Linked DNA regions of Homo sapiens: regions 2 and 3 are each linked to region 1. The links are contacts of gene promoters, found by promoter capture Hi-C in blood cells and fetal thymus (Javierre and others, 2016). All regions are on one chromosome and are shown on one strand. Each heading gives the region's core, a stretch centred on a gene start or on the middle of the fragment in contact. The rest is flanking DNA. Distances are from core to core; before and after follow the strand shown.

What was found. Contacts are between HindIII fragments. The CHiCAGO score rates a contact against its expected background, and 5 or more counts as called.
Region 2: a fragment that was not itself captured here is called in contact with the fragment with the promoter of SYF2 in region 1 in 1 of 17 cell types (neutrophils); the score reaches 5.9 in neutrophils.
Region 3: a contact is called between a fragment that was not itself captured here and the fragment with the promoter of SYF2 in region 1, in 1 of 17 cell types (M2 macrophages). The highest score is 6.2, in M2 macrophages.

The regions. Positions count from the first base shown.
Region 1 is chr1:25,229,400-25,234,494 of GRCh38, reverse strand. SYF2 (SYF2 pre-mRNA splicing factor) reads left to right here and starts at 1,993. Exons shown (of 7, transcript NM_015484.5): 1 at 1,993-2,051; 2 at 2,284-2,391. The coding sequence starts at 2,028. It overlaps LOC124903881 (a long non-coding RNA gene), which reads right to left and starts at 1,906. Exons shown (of 2, transcript XR_007065555.1): 1 at 1,816-1,906. RefSeq lists enhancers at 1,536-1,785, 970-1,883, 2,026-2,175. The HindIII fragment of the contact is 32,676 bases long and covers 1-5,095 here.
Region 2 is chr1:24,647,691-24,652,785 of GRCh38, reverse strand. SRRM1 (serine and arginine repetitive matrix 1) reads right to left here. Exons shown (of 17, transcript NM_005839.4): 4 at 3,757-3,927; 5 at 2,700-2,815; 6 at 1,174-1,377; 7 at 158-352. Among named protein-coding and RNA genes, the nearest start is that of SRRM1, 6.9 kb to the right of the region's middle. The HindIII fragment of the contact is 2,694 bases long and covers 370-3,063 here.
Region 3 is chr1:24,668,982-24,674,076 of GRCh38, reverse strand. It overlaps SRRM1 (serine and arginine repetitive matrix 1), which reads right to left. Exons shown (of 17, transcript NM_005839.4): 14 at 4,490-4,954; 15 at 3,762-3,957; 16 at 2,482-2,691; 17 at 796-1,895. The coding sequence ends at 1,791. Among named protein-coding and RNA genes, the nearest start is that of SRRM1, 28 kb to the right of the region's middle. The HindIII fragment of the contact is 3,084 bases long and covers 1,349-4,432 here.

The DNA of each region.
Region 1 (5,095 bases), core at 744-3,243:
TTTTGTATTTTTAGTAGAGATGGGGTTTCACCGTGTTAGCCAGGATGGTCTTGATCTCCTGACCTCGTGATCTGCCCGCCTCGGCCTCCCAAAGTACTGAGATTACAGGCATGAGCCACTGCACCTGGCCTACTTTTTCATTTCTGTATCTAACTAGTAGTTGTTAGTGCAGAAAAAAATAATTTTCATATATTCCTCTTATATCCAGCACCTTACTTATCTTAGTAACTTTAGCACTGTTAGTAATTCTGGCATTGCCTCTCTGCTGAGCATGTAAGAGTAAACAAGATGGGTGGACTCTGCTGTTCTCCAGTAATAACGCTGATGAGAAAAATAGAAAATCAACAGACAAAAATAAAACTTATGCAATTGGAGAGAATTAAAATAGTGTCAAATGACAGTACTAAAAGTGAGACAGGGTAGTCAGGGAAGACCTGCTTCTATTTTTAAAAATTTATTTTTATGGCCAGGCACAGTGGCTCATGCCTGTAATCCCGGCACTTTGGGAGGCTGAGGTGGGCAGATCATGAGGTCAGGAGTTCGAGACCAGCCTGGCCAACATGGTGAAACCCTATCTCTACTAAAAATACAAAAATTAGCTGGGCATGGTGGCAGGCACCCGTAATCCCAGCTACTCGGGAAGCTGAGGCAGGAGAATCGTCTGAACCCGGGAGCCGGACGTTGCAGTAAGCCGAGATCGGTGCCACTGCACTCCAGCCTGGGTGATAGTGCAAGACTCTGTCTCAAAACAAAAAAACAAAAAAAAATTACTTTTATTTTTTAATTTAGAGACTGATTCTTACTTTGTTGTCCAGGCTGGTCTTGAACTCCTGGGCTCAAGCAATCCTCCCGCCTCCGCCCCGCAATGTGCTGGGATTGCAGCCATGAACCACCACACCAGGCCAAGGGCAAGACCTGCTTCTTGGAGAAAGTGACAACACCTTAAGCTCTAAATGGAAAGAACTTTCCACTCATGGGAATGAATGGCACTGCAGGTTTTTCCTGCTTACTGCAGACAAAACCAATTCACTGAAAAGTGCTACTGCAGTATACAGTTGTATTAACCTGAGGCTGGCCTCAGGGAAGAAGGGTTACCACTCAAGTAAGTTTTCCTGAAGGGTCAGCTCAGAGGTTAGGGTATTTCATAGTTTGGTGTGGGCAGGGCACTAGGGAATGGATGCTGCTGATTGGTTGGAGATGCAATCACAGGGGTGTGGACTACACTCCTCAACAGCTGAGTCCGCCTCTTGGGGGAGGAGTGGGACAGAAGAAGCGGTTGGGTCATGGGTCACGAGTCTGGGTGGGGTCAGTTAGTTGCCAGAATGCGAAAGTCTGAAAAATGCCTCAAAAGACCAATCTTAGGTGCTACGATAACGTTATCTACAGGAATAATTGGGGAAGTTACACATCCGATGTCCTCCGAAACAATGGCTGGTTATCGTTTACTACATTTTAGCAGAATTCTCCCCTCATAATCCTAACCTCCCGGTCTTTCATTAGTTTTATAAAGGCAGTTTCAGCCCCCAAACAAGGAGGGGCCCTGTTTAAGGAAGGGACTATGATCATCCTTGCTTAAAAGTTAAACTATAAATTCTCCCATGGTTAGCTTGGTTTATGCCCAGGAATGAGCGAAGACAGCCGGCCTGCGAGGCTAGAAGCAAGATGGAGTGAGCCATGTTAGATTTCTCTCACTGTCTTTGCAAAGGCGGTTTCCAGGAACAGCGTGCAGAATAGGGGGCTATCAGGCTCCTTTTGGTCATTTCTTCCTAGCCGTCCGATTCTGAGCTCTTCCCAACCCTTTTCTTGGCGACTTACCTCCCGCTGTCCTGGCCCACGCTACTTTTCGCGGCTGCGCAAGACCCTACGCAATCCAAAATATTTCATAGCTAAAAGGGTCCCAACTTCCGGAGACCTCCCGGAAGGGGCGGGGCTTATGGTAGCCCATTCGTACGTATCGGCCCGTTTGTCTGAAGGTTGACGGAAGTGCTCTATCTTGTTGCCGGAAGTGGGAAGAGAGAAAGGTTGTGATGGCGGCTATAGCTGCATCCGAGGTGAGTTCCACCCACCGTACACCGGGGGTTTTGTTGGTGAGGGTTCCGGGGAGCGGCCTGGAGAGAGGTGGAGGCGAAGTCTAGTTTCGCTTCAGGGAGGCTCAGACACTGTGGGGTCAAGTCGGCGGTGGAGGCCCTAGGCCCAGCCTGTGGGGACCGGCGGGGACTCGGCCTGGGCAGTCCTGGGAGAAGCTGAGCCGGCTCTGCCTGAAGCCAGTTCTCCTTGTCGCAGGTGCTGGTGGACAGCGCGGAGGAGGGGTCCCTCGCTGCGGCGGCGGAGCTGGCCGCTCAGAAGCGCGAACAGAGACTGCGCAAATTCCGGGAGCTGCACCTGATGCGGGTGAGTAGTCTTGGAGGCCGGCTTAGATCCGTCATCTGGCCAAGCCTGTGCGCTTTTGTAGAGGGGACGAGGAAGCCACACCACTGCGTCTGACAGACCAACAGAGCAGGATCATCTGAGAGGAAAGCTCTGTTCGGTGGTACTCAACCCTGGCAGCACATTGGGATCATTCTGAGAACATTTGAAAATATAACTGTTCACTCCAGCCCCTCTCCCACCCACATCCAATTTAATGTATCTGGGTTAGGTTTGGGAGTCTCCATTACTAACAACCTCCCTGCTCCGTGATTCCAACAAATTCTTCATTTTACCTAGGGAAATATGTAGAGCTAGAGACAGGAAGAAACTTGTCTAGTGTCAGTAAGAGACCTGGTTCACTTTAAAAAATAATAATCTTCTGTCAGAATCTGTTTGAGTGAAAAGAAAATAATCATCTGTTTTTGGGACTTCTGGGGGAAAAGAATAAAAAGAAAATAAAAAAAATGGCAAACTTTTGAAAGTCTACAGTGTGGTAGTTCAGCCAGTTGATAGGGAATCTGATGTTTAAGTGCCCTGGAGGTGCAGAGGAGGAGAGAGGAATGCAGTTTGTGGGTCTCCAGGGGGTGCCTCATGTAGTAGGTGACACCTAAACTACTGTTTGAAAGCCAGACAACTAAAGGAGTTAGAGAAAGAGATATCCAAGCAAAGGGAACAAATTCAAAGAAAGAGAATTTGTATTAGGGATAAGAGTCCAGCAAATAGCTTGCTGCAGTTGGAGCAGAGAAAGAGAAAAGCAGCCCCTGTTTCACCATGGAGTGACCTGACAGCTAGGCCATGGTTTCACAAAATCCCAAAATCACTCTGACTGTTGTAGTGAGACAAAACAAAGAAGACTTTTCAAATTACAAGAATGACCACATATTTCTTTCTTCTGACTAACACCAGTGACTGTTATTAACAAATACAGCATTAGTCTCACTCCGTTACTTCTGCCTCCTATATAAAAATGTAAGATACTGGGCCGGGTGCGGTGGCTCACGCCTGTAATCCCAGCACTTTGGGAGGCCGAGGAGGGCGGATCACAAGGTCAGGAGATCAAGACCATCCTGGCTAACACGGTGAAACCCCGTCTCTACTAAAAATAGAAAAAATTAGCCGGGCGTGCTGGCGGGCTACACGGGAGGCTGAGGCAGGAGAATGGCATGAGCCCGAGAGTCGGAGCTTACAGTGAGTCGAGATCACACCACTGCACTCCAGCCTGGGCGACAGAGCGAGACTCCATCTCAAAAAAAAAAAAAAAAAAAATCTAAGATACCTAATTGTAGAAAGCCCCTGCTTTCTGACAGTACCCAATCCACATCCTTAACCCTCCCCTCAGTCACCTGATACAAACCCAAATCCTGGAACAAGCCCTTCCTAACACCCTGTCACTCAAATGCCCACGGTTCCCCGTGGTTTGCTCTCTTCTGTGCAACAGACTCAACTTTGTTGACCGTAGGTATGTTCTTGGCGTCTTTAATTGCAGGGCTTTTCCAGGGCCAAGAATATACTAGGGATGGTAGTTGGGAGGAGTATCTCTCTTTGCCGAGGGAAAGTTAATCTAATAAACAATTAAAAAGACATGCTTAAATATTTAGAGTGATTGTGTAAGGAACACATGTCTGGAAATTAGGAGGCGGGGCTTCCTGGACAAACTGCCACCAGCTTATGACCTAAGGAATGTCTAACTCAAGTTTTCCTTAAGACGATACACTCATTTTGCTTTATGCAATTAAGTTTATTTAAAAATAGACTCTTCTCCCTGCTACCCCAGCTCCAAAAAAAAAAAAAGACTCTTCAATGATACTTCAAATGGAAAATTCCTTTCATTTTTCATTTGTCAATGCAAACTGTGAAAATATTTAAAAGGAGGGGAACTTGGAAAGCATTAGAGGCATTAAGATAGGTTTTAAATCCTCTAACCCAAATTGAGGCTTTTTTCTTGAATTAGGATTAAAAGATAATTGAGGCCTGGTGTGGTGGCACATGCCTGTAATCCCAGCACTTTGGGAGGTCCAGGCGGGCAGATCACTTGAGGCCAGGAGTTTGAGACCAGCCTGGCCAAACTGCAAAACCACGTTTCTACCAAAAATACAAAAAAATAAGCCAGGCATTGTGGCACACGCTTGTAACCCCAGCTACTCGGGAGGCTGAGGCATGAGAATTGTTTGAACCCCAGAGGCGAAAGTTGAAATGAGCTGAGATGGCTCCACTGTACTCCAGCTTGGGTGACAGAGTGAGACTCTGTCTCAAAAAAAAAAAAGAAAGAGTGTCTTTCACATCATGTGACGTAATTTTTTTTTTTTTTTTTGAGATGGAGTCTCGCTCTGTCACCCAGGCTGTAGTGCAGTAGTGCAATCTCAGCTGACTGCAACCTCTGCCTCCTGGGTTCAAGTGAATCTCCTGCCTCAGCCTCCCGAGTAGCTAGGATTACAGGTGTGCACCACCATGCCTCGCTAATTTTTGTATTTTTAGTAGAGACGGGGTTTCACCATGTTGGCCAGCCTGGTCTTGAACTTCTGACCTCAGGTGATCCACCTGCCTCAGCCTCCCAAAGTGCTAGGATTACAAGCGTGATCCACTGCACCTGGCCAATTTAATAGTAATGCCAAATAAAGTCTACTTAAGTGCCACTATAGTATGGTCTCCAATACTGCAAAACCTTGTTCTGATCCAATAAAAAGGG
Region 2 (5,095 bases), core at 467-2,966, 580 kb after region 1:
TATGGTACACAGAAAAGTGTCCTCAAATTCTCTGTGTACATTCAAAAAATATTTGTACTAAACATCTTCTACCACTTTGAAATTATTTATCTAATTGTACCCAGTAGAGTAGTATATAAAACCTAAGATCTTTGTTGATCTTAAAGCCACAACTCACCTTGATCGGGATCTATGGCGCCGTCTAGGTCGAGTGTGAGAAGGAGAGCGGGACCGCGTCCGGGATCTTGATTTGGAGCGTGACCGAGATCGTGGTCGGGTCTTCTCCTTCTCCTTTTCTTTTTTGGAATTTTTTTCCGGAGAAGGTTCTTTAGGCTCTGGTATAGGTTCAGGTTTGGGAACTTTCAGAATGTCACTGTGGAAACAAAAGCTTTTTTTTTTTTTTTTGCCTTCTTGTACTCAGCCTTCTAAATCATTACACAATGATGTAATAAAGTATTTCTAAAACTTTTCAAAATTCACAGACTTGTCTCTATCTCCAAAAGACACATAAGTATGTATGTACCTATCACTGAAACCCAGAGAGCAACTAATAATTCCAACCATGTACATTTTCTTTTCTTCTTCTGAGACAGGGTCTCACTCTTGTCACTCAGGCTGGAGTGTACTGGCATGATTTTGGCTCACTGCAGCTTCAACCTCCCAGGCTCAAGTGATCCTCCTGAGTAGCTGGGACTATAGGCATGTGCCAACCATGCCCGGCTAATTTGTGTGTGTGTGTGTACATATATATATATATATATATATATATATATATATTTTTAGTACAGATGGAGTTTCACCATGTTGCCCCAGGCTGCTCTCTAACTTGTGAGCTCAAGCGATCCACCCACCTCAGCCTCCCCAAGTGCCGAGATTACAGGCATGCACCCCCGCATCTGGCAACCACATACATTTCTTAAAAGTGCGAAGTTGTCCACAATACGTTGAGGAAAAAAAGCAAGTTACAATATATAAAATACCTGAAACAATACAACCAAAAGATAGTAATGGTCACCCTCTGGGGCATTTTCTTCTAATATACTCTCCTAAACAATTTCTTTTCAACAAACTAATTTTATAATTTAAAAAATCTAAAAGGAAAATAAGTAGTTTTATTTTAACTCAGATGTCATATTTGCAGTCACTATTAATCTAAAATTGTGATTATTTATAAATGAATTTTTATATACTTGCCTAGTAGAAGTAGCCTCTTGTACTGAAGGTTCTTTTACTTTCACTGAAGGTTCTGGGAGCTCTGGAGTTTTTTCCTTCTTTTCTGGAGCAGGGGAAGGACTCCGGCTCTTGGTTCTGTGACGGGGAGATCGAGAATGACTGCGCTTTCTCTCTCTCCTGACAGGGGAAGATCGTCTTCTAGGGGAAGGAGATCTGGATTTGCGTCTAGGATGAAAGTAATTTTTTTCAGGTTTTTAAATAACATGGATTGGAAGAGAGGAGTCAAAGGGAGAAGTGAGGATTAATCTTTAGTTACACTACTGTTTATATCTGAGATGTTTCCCTATGGAAATAAGACATGCTAACCTAATCTACTTGACAGGGAAGAGAAAGACAAGCAAATGAAAGATAACATTCTCGAGTATATCAGTTATAAGGGAGAAAAGCACTAACTTGGGACTCTAGACTTAGGTTCTTAATCATTCCCAGAGATCAAAAGACCAACTTTTCAGAGGCAAAGAGGATGCTTTAAAGCAAACAATGATAATCCTTGACAACAAATCAAACTCCCAAACATAAAACATTTAGATGCGGACAGATTACAATGGAGTTCATCAGGAAGAGCCTCAGTATGCCAGAAAAATGACTAATACCATTAAAGCAACATGTTCTTCAGAAAAGAGAAATATACATCAAACATCCAGAAGATAGCTTTTTTGCGAGAGGAGAAGCCCTCTTTCTTAACAGTAGCCTGCCTAACTCGAAGGGTTTTTCTCTTATTCACACAGAAGGAAAATGGCAGACATACTTCATCAATAGTCAAGTAGTTACCACCATGACAATTTGTGCTTAGCTCTATAAATATTACTTCCATAAGGAGATTTTAGTATCAAATATATAAATGAAAGGGACAAAGAAATTACCTCTTCTCTTTACTAATTCCAGCAGACATTTATGAAAGAAATAAGCAGAACCCTAAAAATAAAAAGCCTAATGGAGTTCTCACCTTTCACCACAAATATAGAAGCTGAGCCGTGGATTTAAAAATGTGAACCTAACAATAGTCTCACTGGAAGAAGAAAACAAATAAATGATCTGAAGTTTGGGTTCAGTACAACCATCTAAGAAAAGCAGAACAGGGAATTAGGTAAGTATTACATGAACGGCTAATGAGTACAGATTTCGAGTACAGATTTCTTTTTAGAAGAAAGGAAATGGAAAGAAAAAGTGAGTCAGAGTACATTTTTAAAAACCCAAATTAACTGTTATGAACTAAAGCAATATGGAAGAAAAAGTTTAAAGTTTTGATTTAGGAATTTAGAGTTGGATAATTTATGAACATCTGCGAGACACTCATGGCTAAATTATCTGTCTCAAACAAAATATGACAGATTTCTTTAGTCCAGAGGCAAGGCACAGGTCACCATGAAAACTGCATGATGGAACAAATTCCTTGAATAGCGCTGTTAGATTCCTTTTTAACTAAGGAAGTTTCTTAAGACCTAAAGTACCTGTAAAACATCAGTTATGCATCTATTGTATGATACCTTCTTGGGCTACGAGACCGCTCCCTTTTTTCTCTGCTGCTTTCTTTTTCTTCCTTATCTCTTTTATCTTTGTCTTCATCTTGCTTTTTCATAGATGCCAGTTTTTCTTGTTCAATCTGCAAAGACCAGGTTTTCAAAATACACATAGTTGAACATTTGAGAACAAACTGAAGACTACTTTCTACGTGTGTTAAACACCAATGCTATTATCATTTCATCGGCCTCTTCTTTTGAACCAGACCTGTTCTTTCTTCACCTACACTACAGATACGCATTAAGACTGGTATTATCGCCACTCATTTACAAATAAATATTCACTGAAAGTTAATCTCTAAGACCTGAACTAAAGAGATGTTTTCAAGCTTACTTCAAAAAAATAAAAATAAAAATAAAAAATAAAATAAAAAAGAAAATCACTTTCACATTGACCTTATTCTTTCTGGGAGTTCATCTGTATTGCCCATATTAAGAGTTTATGCTGGCTGGGCACGGTGGCTCACGTCTATAATCCCGCCAAGGGCGGGCAGATCACTTGAGGTCAGGAGTTCGAGACAAGTCTGGCCAACATGGCAAAATCCCGTCTGTACTAAAAATACAAAAATGAGTTGGATGTGGTGGTGTGCGCCTGTAATCCCAGCTACTCAGGAGACTGAGGCATGAGAATCGCTTGAACTCAGGAGGTGAAAGCTGCAGTGAGCAGAGACCACACCACTGCACTCTAGCCTGGGTGACAGACTGAAACTGTGTCTCAAAAAAACAACAAACCAAAAATCCTTATGCTTACCTTTCAGTGTTAAATTCAAATTTCTTTTAAGCTACATGCACTCACATATTAAGAATTTGTAAAAATCTAGCAAATCACTAGACTGGGAAAATGACATTCTAAACTCAATGTTTGGTTGGAGGGAGGAGCAGTGAACCAAAACTGAATGTTTAAATACAGTACAGCAAAGCAAAACTACATGAAGATCCTAGCTGAGTCATATACTACCTAAGGTGTCTCGGCAGCCTGGCCAATACTCTCAAATCGACATTACAGAAAAGAAAAGGTTATTACCTGTCTTTGTTTTATTTCTTCTTTCTTCAGTTCTAGGAAAGCAGAAGGGATTCCCGCGATGTTTTCTTGTGCACTTAGCAGCAGGGGCCACAGTTCTCCCATAAATTCTCGAGCATTTTTTCCATTCAAAAATCCAGTCAGGTTGATTTGCATCATTTTGGAGTCTGGATTCTGCAAAAAGACACGACAGGAAGAAAAACAGGTTACTTCAAAACCAACCAACCAACAAATCAACCAACCTAAAACTCATTTAAATTAGTATTTTTTAAGTCTACCATAGGGGCTTAGACATATATATAGTCCTTACTATTTTACAAATAGTCTTCCCTAGTAGCTTCTCAGCAATATAATCTCTAACAGATTACCAAATTCTCTCTCACTCTACCAAAAGCATCAGAGCAGCCTGTTAATCCTTTGTGGATTTCGTAAGTATTTTTAGACTCTGTGGCTGTTAGTGGGCCTTACATTTATTAACTTTAAAAACCATCATGAAACATCCACAAATTCTAGTATTTACTAACAAGAAAAGTATTTGCTTGCCTGGAAATTTTCCCCCAATGAGAAACGGAAAAAGTACATAAACTGCTCCCTAACACTACAGATAGCTTTGCATAAAATATCTATTGTCCAGTTATGAAAACTAACAAGTTATGCATGCAGTCTGTAACTTCTGAGGGCTAAGCTAAAGGCCTGAGTTTTATATAAGGAAAATCTATTATAACAATGCCTCAAATTCTCAACTGTCCACAAAGTGCTAAGAGGTCAAGATTTCTCAAAAATAATTGGGTTTTTAAATGCTAAATCCGTTGGTCAAGCAACAAGGTCTGTATAACAAGCACAGCTCAATAGCACAAAGCAAGTACAGATTCCAGGTGTCTTCAGTTTCTTCTTGGAACCTTGGGGGTTTGGAATCGCCAAGTCCCCTGTAGAGAAAGATGTTCCCTTGGCTTGCTTCCGACTCCCTACTGCAACTCAACCACCTTGAGTTTAATGTTATATCATTTATCTAAATTGCAAAAGACGAACAAGCAATAATGAGTACACAACCACAAAAAAAGAATTGTCTTAAAAAGTTCTAAACTTTAATCTCATGCTCACTACAAGGGGAATACTACCAGATACTTAGGTTTTTAAAATGCACTAAAATACACATCAGTAAAGCATTTCTCCAATAAAATCTATCTTCAATCATCATTTAAAAAACTTTCTCCCCTGTTCCTGGTTTTCTAAGATGCATATACTTTATAGAAAGTGCATTCTTAAAATTAGTCTTTAAAAATATTCAAAACAAAATACAAACACCAAATTATTTTAAAACTAGAAATACCTTATCAGTTGA
Region 3 (5,095 bases), core at 1,641-4,140, 560 kb after region 1:
GCTTGGCCAAGATGGTGAAACCCCATCTCTACTAAAAATATTTAAAAAATAGCTTGGCGTAGTGGCGGGCACTTATAATCCCAGCTACTTGGGAGGCTGGGGCAGGAGAATCACTTGAACCCAGGAGGCGGAGCTTGCAGTGAGCTGAGATTGTGCCACTGCACTCCAGCCTGGGTGACAGAGCAAGACCTCAACCAAAAAAGAAAAAGAAAGAAATTAAGATTGTAGGCATTTTCTTCCTTGTTTTGGTTCAACTGCCAGAACTTAAAATCAAACTATACATGCGTCGACCTGCTCAGCTTAGGTTTCTGGTGAACTTCTTTCATACGAATGTTGCTGTTTTACCTCACACTATGTTAACAACTCCAAGTTTCCCCAAATTTTCGTTCCACTTAGTTTTAAATGCAAAACAGACTTGGTTGTAGATAGCCAAATATTACGTGCGCACGCACACACACACGCACATACACACACACAACCCCCCCCCCCCCACCCCGCCCCTGACAGAGGGTGTTCCAGTCATTCCTTAGCCTTTGTTCACTTCCTAACATGCCAGCAGGCTCCTTCTGCCTCAGGGAAGACACAGACACTGTTTGTCTGACTGCAATCCTGTTCTCTTTGCCTGGTGGACTTCTCCCACCAGTATTCTAAATGTTCCAATCACATGCTGATTCCCTTTATAGCACTCACCACAGTAATTATTGAAATAAAGATGGTAAAACCTTAATTTCATCACCTTTTCTTTCCCCTGCCCAACTCCCAACACACCAAAAGGTTTACATAAGCACTACTAAGTAAGAGTGGCAAAATTTTTAAATTTAGAAATTTATTCTGTTTAATCCACAAGCTTTATATAGCTTTAGTTTAAAAAAAATCAAAACAAAAAAAAAATCAAAACAAAAACAGTGAAACCAAGACACTATTCCAAAGTCTGGGCCCTTCCAGCCTTCCAAATACAAGAGGCTCTGAAAGTTGTATATACCAATTGGAAGAACAAGACAAAAATATGAACAGAGCCATGACATTTCATTAAACAAATTGTATGTAACTGAAGGATCCTTTCTGGGACTAGCTCATTGCCTTTACAAAAGAAAAAAAACAAAACAAAAAAAACAAAACCAGAATAACAGAATGAGAGTCCAGTGTTCCAAATCAACTTGTTACACATCAATATAAACCCACAGTGTCCTGGCAAACAACATGCTTTCATTTTCTGTCTCATCCTAGAGCTCGAATCCTGATTCATTTCAGCAGAGACTCCACAGGCAACAGGAAAGATTGTGGCATTAAAATATTCATTTATACTTTTGTGGTAGTTCAAAACAGTGGTCTTATTTCTGGGCAAGCTTACAGACCATACAAGGTCAGAAGCATAACTTAAATGGGAGCTAAGACTCAAATGAAAAAAATAAGAAGAAGAAAGAAAAACAAAAAGAAAATCAAAACCAAAAAAACAAACAAAAAAACCCCTCTGGGAATAGCTAGGGCATTTAAAGGAACCATAAAAATGCCAACAGTATTTAAACCCCCTTTTTTAAAAAGGGAATTTTTTTTTGGCTTAAAATATTTCACTCAATGAATTATGTCAGCTGTCAATGAAAGAATGTCACTAATACACTGTGGACACCTTTTGCAATGTAAATCCATGCCCCCTTTTTTTACATGTTGAACTTCAACCTAGCAATTATTACAACAAATGTTATAGTCTAAAGCTCAAACACATTTTAGCAATTTTGAAATTGAACTGCGTACAAACCAAATAAAATTTACATCATAACAAACATTTCCCCCTAAGACTGTGGGGACACTTGGGCCTTCCTCATTGATCTCAGGGCCTTTTCACGCAGGTGCTTTTCTAAATCATCAAGGTTATCTTCAGCTTCACTTTCAGTCTCCTAAAAAAAACAGAATTTACACGGTTAAGTCTTGAGACCCTGGTGGGAAATGCCGAGTAAAGAGCAGAATCAAAGTGTGGGAGGGGAACATCACACACCGGGGACTGTTGTGGGGTAGGGGGAGCAGGGAGGGATATACCTAATGCTAAACGACGAGTTAATGGGTGCAGCACACCAACATGGCACATGTATACATATGTAACAAACCTGCACATTGTGCACATGTACCCTAAAACTTAAAGTATAATAATAATAAAATTAAAAAACAAACAAAAAAAAAAACCAACCTCACAAATCTTTTGAGTACTGAACTGTATGCAAATATAATGGCCACTGTGGATAGTTAATATTTTAAATAAATAAGTCACCTTTATAAAAAAAAAAAGTGTGGGGATCGCTGCACAACTGATATACTAAAACCCAGGGAACCACAAACTTTAAATGGGTGAACTGTATGGTACGTGACTTTTATCTCAGAGTAACTGGCTAATTAGTAGAAAAAACAATTTTGCTACTTCTCAAAACAAAATGACTTTGCTATCTGTACGTAAACTGCAAGACAGCCATATACAGAGTTCATAAATACCTTCTTCGGCTCTGGCGCTGCCACTGGCTCTTCCTGTGCTAATGTGGTTGTGGCAGCTGCAATGGCTGCAGGGGTCACAGCAGCTGCAGCAGCTGCAGCCACAGCCTTTTCCTTCTTGTGTTTTTTGTGCTTCTTGTGCTTCTTATCCTTTTTGTGTTTCTTGTCCTTCTTTTTCTTCTTTTTCTTTCCACCTCCTTCCTGATCTGAATTCTAGGAAGAAAAAAAAACAACACCCAGCATTTATAATCAATCTGATTAATATTCTGTCCAACTGAACATTTTATTTCCTCAAATCCCCAATGGACAAATCTCAAGATTTCCGAAAGGCTTTGGAGGGTGTGAGTGGGGAAGGCCCAAGGCCAATTATCACCAAGAAAAGTATTCAAAAGTCAGGGGCTATCTCCAGGATGAGCTCAATTCCAGCTCCTGAACTATTTGACCTTAGACAAATTGTTGAACTCTTTCTGAGACCTTTTTACCTAAAATAAGTGTAATAATCCCTACCTGATAAAGCTCTTGTGAAAATTAAATGAGAATATCTGTAAATCACCCATAATACTTGCCTAACATGTAGCAGACTTTTAATAAATGGTACCAGCCATTAGTCTAAACACATGCCTGTATGAATGCCATGTCTCTAGCTACCATCTGAGCTCTCCTATCTTTAGAGTGGGGATGACTGGTTCTTCCTCATGACACACATACCAAATTTATGCAAAAAGCAGGCTCCTATAATTTAATCCATAATATTTCAATTTCACACTTCTAAGCAATTACTTAAAATTCCTCACAAGTTAGCTTGCACAACTATTCAGTCAACCCAATTAAATATGGACATCTGAGGCCACAGCAGGAGGATCACTGGAGGCTAGGAGTTCAAGATCAGCCTGGTCAACACAGCAAGACCCTGTCTCTACAAAAAGTTAAAAACAAAAAACCAGCCAGGTGTAGCAGCATGTGCCTATAATCCCAGCTACTTGGGAGGCTGAGGCGAAGGGATCACCTGCGTCCAGGAAGGCTGCTGTGAGCTATGATCATCCCACTGCACTCAGCGTGGGTGACAGCATGAGACCCTGTCTCAAAAACAAACAAAAAACAGATGGACACCTAACCACTGATTTTATGCAATACAGAAACCTGCCCAAGATCAGATGTATAACTCACAAATGGGAAAAAAAGTTTAAACACCAATATTTTAATGCCCCAATGACATTTTCTCTGCTTCAAAGTGACCATATACATATTTATAAAAGGGTGTCCAAAATAAGGCAGACACATACTCTTGGCGGTGATGGGCTCGGTGTTGGGCTTTTGGCCTTTTTGACCGGTACAGCTGGTGACCAGTTTGTAGACGGTGACTGAGACTGGACGGGGGATGGAGGTGCTGGGGGCTTTTTAGCTGCTGGCTCAGGAGACCCGGAGACAGATCGGGAGGATGAGACCCTTCTTACAGACTGTGGGCTTGGGGAAGCAGCCCTAGACAAAAAGGAAAAAACATTCAGCATTGAGAACAGCCATCTCTCTTCACATGAGAAAACCACCAACTACACTGTACAACCAGGTTATGAATTTCAAATATACCACTTAGATTGCTGGTTGATTCAACTAACATATATCCAATTTACATTACCTATGTTTCCCAGAGGGTGGCTAAAGCCCCATAATCCTCTATCTATTCTGTTAATGATGCTTCTTATGTAAGATTAGTAATGTCAGTTCCTTACATCACACACAAGAAATGTTCAATGTCTTACTCAAGTTTAGTTTTGGAAGCATACCCCTCAAAAACAAATTAATAACTGCTAAGAACCAAGTAAAAGCCTGTGGCATTTAACTTATACCACAGAAACTATCCCAAAAAATGGAATAAGATCTGTAAATAGTACCTCAAGTTTGACTTAAAAGCTCATATTCATAACTTATTCCTTTTATATGGGGGTGGGGGGAAGCTTCCAAATATAAACAGCTATGTAAGTATTCCTAATGGAAAAGCATAAAATATTTTTACTTTTTTATCTTTTTAGGTTCCGGAGTCCTGGAGACTCTCCTAATGGGCCTAGTACTTGGAGACGGGGACTGCCTTCTTTGGGGTGATGACGACGCTCCTCTTCGAACGGGTGGAGGACTTGAGGAGGTCTGAGGAGCTCGAGGCCGTGGTGAGGGCGAATGCCGTTTGTTTGGTTGTGGTGATCGGGCCTCCCGGGTAGAGCGGCTTGGGGAAGACCCTTTCCTATGCTTGGATGATAATGAAGGTGAACGTCTCTTGGTGACTGGGGAGCTTCTTTGTTTGGGAGGTGGAGAATGGGAGACCCGCCGCTTTGGTGGTGGAGATGGTGATGCTCTTCGTTTAGGAGGGGGAGGAGGTGAAGCCGTTCTTCTCTTTGGAGGTGGAGAAGGAGAGTATCTCCTCTGTATTGGAGGAGAGTATCTTCTAGGAGAAGGTGAGCGCCGACGTGGGGGAGGAGAAGGAGTCCTAGGAAAAAGATACATAATTAAGCTGAAAGGCTCAACAAAATACAGAAACAGGATGAAAAGTAATCAGTAGGTTTGGCTATACTGTAGTTAGCACTAGGCAAAGGGAATATATTTATAAGTGAACATGCTATCTTTATAT